Linked DNA regions of Homo sapiens: region 1 is linked to region 2. The links are contacts of gene promoters, found by promoter capture Hi-C in blood cells and fetal thymus (Javierre and others, 2016). All regions are on one chromosome and are shown on one strand. Each heading gives the region's core, a stretch centred on a gene start or on the middle of the fragment in contact. The rest is flanking DNA. Distances are from core to core; before and after follow the strand shown. Region 1 holds the start of GUCA1C (guanylate cyclase activator 1C). Region 2 holds the start of DPPA4 (developmental pluripotency associated 4).

Region 1 (2,700 bases), core at 93-2,592, 380 kb after region 2:
CACCACCACTTCTGGTCAAGGCAGTTCATTTAGGCCATGATGGCTACTTCTTAGGAATCAAGGGTTTCATAATAAACAGGTAATCAGTCAGGACTAAGGAATAGGGACAAAGACAGAGACCAGATATATGAGCTGGGCCAAAATGAAAATAAAAGAAAGAATTGAGTGAGGTTAGAAAAGAGAACTGTAGGCCAGGTGTGGTGACTTGTGCCTGTAATCCCAGCACTTTGGGAGGCTGAGGCGGATCATGAGGTCAGGAGATCGAGACCATCCTGGCTAACACGGTGAAACCCCATGTCTACTAAAAATACAAAAAATTAGCTGGGCGTGGTGGCGGGCGCCTGTAGTCCCAGCTACTCTGGAGGCTGAGGCAGGAGAATGGCGTGAACCCAGGAGGTGGAGCTTGCAGTGAGCTGAGATCATGCCACTGCACTCCAGCCTGAGGGACAGAGCGAGACTCCATCTCAAAAAAAAAAAAAAAAAAAGGAGAACTATAATTTAGGGGTAACAGAATTATATTCTACCTGGGGTTTTCTGGTTCTAAGTATGGTTGGTACCAAAATGGGTTGAGGACCACACAAAGCATTCATTTCCACTACTGGACCTTGGATACAGTTCTTAGGTCCATTGACCCTGTTCTTAAGTTCATTGGCAAATGGGGCTTGGTTAGGACAAGATTAGCCAGATTAGAAAACTGGAGTGAGATAAAGCTGGCAGGCCAGTGGCATGTGTAGATACTTGAGAGACCAGAAAAAGGTAAGAACAGAGGGTGGGGGAGAGAAAGGAAGAACACTGCCAGAAGACACAGCCCAATATGTTCCTTTATCTGACTACTACATCTGAAGTTCTTCTTACTACTATTTAATTCTCTTTACCTATTTTTCTCTCTTATACATAGACTTCTTTTTAATAATACTCAATGTATGATTTTTTCATGTAAAATGTTATCTAAATATATCTTCACAATACTCAGGTATGAAAAGGCAGAAACTTTTATTACTGTTTTACAGATGAGGAAACACGAGAATGTAAGTAATGTTTCAATATAGTTAATAAGTGGTAGAACAAAGCATAGAATCTAGGCTTCCTGATTGCAACTCAAAGTTCCTGCCATTAGACCCACTGTACCACTCAATAATGTAGGCAAAATTTATGGCTAACAATATAACAAGGATCACCCTCTCTAAAATATTGCGTGTTCCCTTCACAAAAAACTATGTCTCTGCATGACTGTAAGCATGTTAGTTACCAAGTGCCAAGTGACCTTGGTTTTAAAACTGGGCAGATAAGTTAATCTCACTGGCTTTCTATTCTTATTTAGCTTGTTGCTGTAAGAGGTTTAGAGTAGCTTTCTGAGGGCATATGTTAGCCTTCAGTTTTAGTGAGGAGTAAGGGACTAAATCCAGCAAAAACTTAAGTGAAAACAACCTGAGGAAAAGCTGTAGACTGTGAGTCAAGATGGGGAATGGCAAATCTATAGCTGGTGATCAGAAAGCAGTTCCTACACAAGAGACCCATGTGTGGTACAGAACATTTATGATGGAATATCCATCCGGCCTGCAAACACTACATGAATTTAAGACACTTTTGGGTCTGCAAGGTCTGAATCAGAAGGCCAATAAACATATTGATCAAGTTTATAATACCTTTGACACGAACAAGGTAAGATCTTTCATTTTTCATTTCATTTGAAAATGCTGTGGTTCTGCACTCTTCCCTTTTTTTTTTTTTTCCTGTAAAATAGCCTTAAGTAAAATGTGTACATCCCACTGAATGGAGAGGTCTTCAGGCAACTCACAGCTTGTAGGTAAGTGAGTCATTAAATACTTTTAGTACTGACGGCATGAAAATAATTGGGAACTAGCCTCTCCCACCCTAGGAAGTGTTCTGCATGTAGGGAGTTATTTTAAAACCAGATTAAATCTCGGCATGGAATTCTAATGCTATCATTTAAATAAATCTAATAAGTACAGATTGATTTACAAAGACTGTTTTCGAAGTATTTAATGCATTGGTGACATTTTATAGAAAAGCAAATTACAGGACTCTGCTTTTAAAAGTGTGATTGCATCTAGATTGGCAGATATAATCAATACAAATTAGCCAACATGTTGTCTGTACTCAAATCAAAAGTTAAACTGCTTCATATTACTTTTTTCCCCATAGTTTACCAATTTAGTTTGGGAAAAATGGAAGCTTAACAGTTTTAAATTCAGACAAATTTTTGTTTCTAAAGATTGTTACTCAACTTTTATCTTGAATTTACTCATTCCTGAGGAGCTGTAGTGCATTTAATTTCATTTCTTGAAAAAATACAAAGAAGAGAAAAGAATATATGGAATTGAAAAAAAAAAGAGAGACAAAAAAGCAACAACCTGAAATATCAGGCTCAGGTTCTGCCTGCTTTTACTTGTTTATTTTGGTTATTTTACTGTAGATTTGTATATTTCAAAATGTGTAGATATTGACTAGAATAAAAAGGAACAGAGAAAATGCTAATAGAAAATAATGACTTTAGAAGGCCATCCAACTGATAATAGAAGAGAAAGAAGGGGAGGTAAATTGAGTAAAATTAAAAAAAAAACTGGTTGTTTGATAGGATGTGTAGAATTTAGCAAAATACTTTAAACCAAGAAGCAGGTGACTTAAAAGGAGGTAACAGGCAGGAACTTGGGAAGATTAAACCTGTGCAAAATTAAC
Region 2 (2,897 bases), core at 287-2,786:
GTAGCTGGGATTACAGGCACGCACCATGCCCGGCTAATTTTTGCATTTTTAGTAGAGAAGGGGTTCTGCCATTGTTGGCCAGGCTGGTCTCAAAACTCCTGAACTCAAGTGACCTGCCCACCTCAGCCCCCCAAAGTGCTGAGATTACAGGCGTGAGCCACCATGCCCAGCCCAGAACTCCAGTTATTCTGAATGTTACGTTCAATTACACTGACAAAAGAAAGATGATTCAGTTATACACTTTATACACAAACCTTAATTAGAAAGTCCTACTGGTGGTTACCAAAGGCTGTGGTAAAGAATTGTTAAATCAAAGCCCTAATATCTCCCAGATGACCTCAACTCACCTGGTTTCCTCTTTGCCGCCTTGGGGGTTGCCCAGTCCACAACCTGCACTTCCTTCTCTATTCCTGGGCTCCGTTTACTTACTTTTTCTGTCCGTGGATTTCTAGCCTGTGAGCAGATTACTAACACCATTTGGATAAAGACAGTCTCTTATTTATCATTTTAGGACAAGCAATGAGATGTAGGAAAAAAAAACAACAAAGTAAACCAAAGAACAAAAGAGACTTTGGACCCTGACAAGGGAGGGTTTCAGTCGCACAGCCACTGCTTCCTTCACTTCACATCTCTTGACAATCTGACAGGGAGCACTGATCTGAGGAAAGATTTTTCAAATTATTTTAAGGAGAAAAACTTGAACTTCTTTGGGAGTCAGTAGGTTAGGGGTTCACTTACTGTGCTATTGAAAAAGTTACCAATAAAAATTTATACCAACTTTAGTCATATATAAAATGGGGAACAATAATGACTGAATTTAAAACTCACAATTTGAGATATAAAAAAATACTCGGGCGGGGAGTGGTGGCTCACGCCTGTAATCCCAACACTTTGGGAGGACAAGGCTGGAGAATTACTTGAGGGCAGGAGTTCGAGACCAGCCAGGTCAAAATAGCCAGACCCCCCCACTTGCCCTCTACAAAATAAATAACAAATACTCTATAGACTTTAAAAGCTACTATTATTAGTTCGTTGGCAGATGAAAAGATGCTCGGTATTAGTACAGAGAAACCTGGAGTTTTAGTTGGTTGAGTAACTTACTTAGGAAATGGAATGTATTTGGTACGAGAAAATAGCTTTCTTCAAGCCGCCAGTCTGGTCTCTGAAGTCTACTGTTGCCACAAGTTCCATTATTAAATCCCTTCACACATCCTGCTCAAGTCTCTGGCCACTGTTTTTTTGTTTTTTGTTTTTTGTTTTTTTTCCCCGTAGAATCGTTCTGAAGGAGTGCTCAATCTCCCAATGTCTCCGGAACCATACTTTGGATAATTACATTTAAAGTGAACAGAAAAGGGCCAGGAATAGTATTAGTAATTCAACCCAGACAAAAGTCACCCCATGAATAAGAAAGAATGCAATTTTAGCATTTACAAATTGTGGGGGAGGGAACAGAAGGGGAGAAGAAAAGAAGAGGTGAGGTGGAGAGAAAAAGGGTCTTCGGGCGGCAGGAAGTGGGAGGAGACTTTGCAAATAGCAATCTTGGGGCAGGGGCCATTTTGGAAGCATGTTGCGAGGCTCCGCTTCTTCTACAAGTATGGAGAAGGCAAAAGGCAAGGAGGTCAGTACAGTTTTAGTGGATTTGTTTTCTGTCTGTCTTTGTGTTTCTGTCTTCCCTGGGCACTCCTGATTTTTCCTTTAAGGAGAAAAGAATGTGCCTTCGAATTTTCTCCTCTTGACTTTTTTTTTTTTTATTTTAAGAGTAAGGCCCAAGAATATGATTGCAGCCTGGTATATTGGAGTGAGCAGACAAGTAAGAAATGAGGTTTTCTAGGTTTAGTTGAGGAGGTTGAGTGTGTCAAAAGATGGGGAAAAAAAAAAAAGAGGCCGGGCGCGGTGGCTCACGCCTGTAATCCCAGCACTTTGGGCAGCCGAGGCGGGCGGATCACCTGAGGTCGGGAGTTCGAGACCAGCCTGACCAAAATGGAGAAACCCCGTCTCTACTAAAAGTACAAAATTAGCCAGGTGTGGTGGCGCACACCTGTAATCCCAGCTACTCGGGAGGCTGAGGCAGGAGAATCGCTTGAACCCGGGAGTCGGGGGTTGCGGTGAGCCGAGATCGCCCCATTGCACCCCCAGCTTGGGCAACCAGAGCGAAACTCCACCTCAAAAGAAAAAGTTAAAAAATTAGGTTTTCAGGTTTGTGTTTTGGAACAGGGTTTCACTTTTGTCTCCCTGGCTGGAGTGCAGTGGCACCATCACTATTCACTGTAACCGCCCAGGCTCAAACGATCCTCCCACCTCGGCTTACCAAAGTGCTACTGGGACTGCAGGCGCCCGCCGCTGCTCCCGGCCCGGGTTTTCTGTTTTGAAGAGGTGCTTAGTCCTGTCAGAAAGAACTAACTGAATATGGGGGCTAGAGGGAAATGGTAACAGGAGAAAAGGGTGTTAAAGGAAAGATTTTAGGAAGAGGTAATTGAGCTGAGTTTGGAAAAGAATGAAACCCCTTAATTTCCTTTAGACGGACACAGATCCTAAACCGAGGGTGCTGAGAATGAATTCGTCCCCTTTTCCCAGCGTCCTTAGGACCTAGGAGTAATCAGAAGCCAGACATTGGGAACAATGCAGACAGAAACTGAAGGAAGAGAGGATTTAAGACGTTGCACAGGCACTGAACGGCCATATCCGAGCGCTCTCAGGTCCTCTTGACTTGAACTGGGTCATTTTTAACTGTCTCGGTTTTAAGTCTTTTGTGAGGTCCAAAGTGAGTACTTTTTGTAAGGTTTATGCAAATATAAATTTCAAATCAAAATGTAGAACTGCTATAGAGATGTAAAAATGCCATACAAATGTTAATTTGTCCAGTAATCCACCCTGAAAGTGAAGAAAAGGATTTAGAT

What was found. Contacts are between HindIII fragments. The CHiCAGO score rates a contact against its expected background, and 5 or more counts as called.
Region 1: a contact is called between the fragment with the promoter of GUCA1C here and the fragment with the promoter of DPPA4 in region 2, in 4 of 17 cell types (neutrophils, M2 macrophages, naive CD8 T cells and 1 more). The highest score is 8.1, in neutrophils.

What each region holds. Positions count from the first base shown.
Region 1 is chr3:108,952,521-108,955,220 of GRCh38, reverse strand. GUCA1C (guanylate cyclase activator 1C) reads left to right here and starts at 1,342. Exons shown (of 4, transcript NM_005459.4): 1 at 1,342-1,662. The coding sequence starts at 1,459. The HindIII fragment of the contact is 5,644 bases long and covers 1-2,198 here.
Region 2 is chr3:109,336,185-109,339,081 of GRCh38, reverse strand. DPPA4 (developmental pluripotency associated 4) reads left to right here and starts at 1,536. Exons shown (of 7, transcript NM_018189.4): 1 at 1,536-1,618. The coding sequence starts at 1,565. RefSeq lists enhancers at 1-212, 1,431-2,038, 2,039-2,647, 2,648-2,897. The HindIII fragment of the contact is 8,399 bases long and covers 1-2,897 here.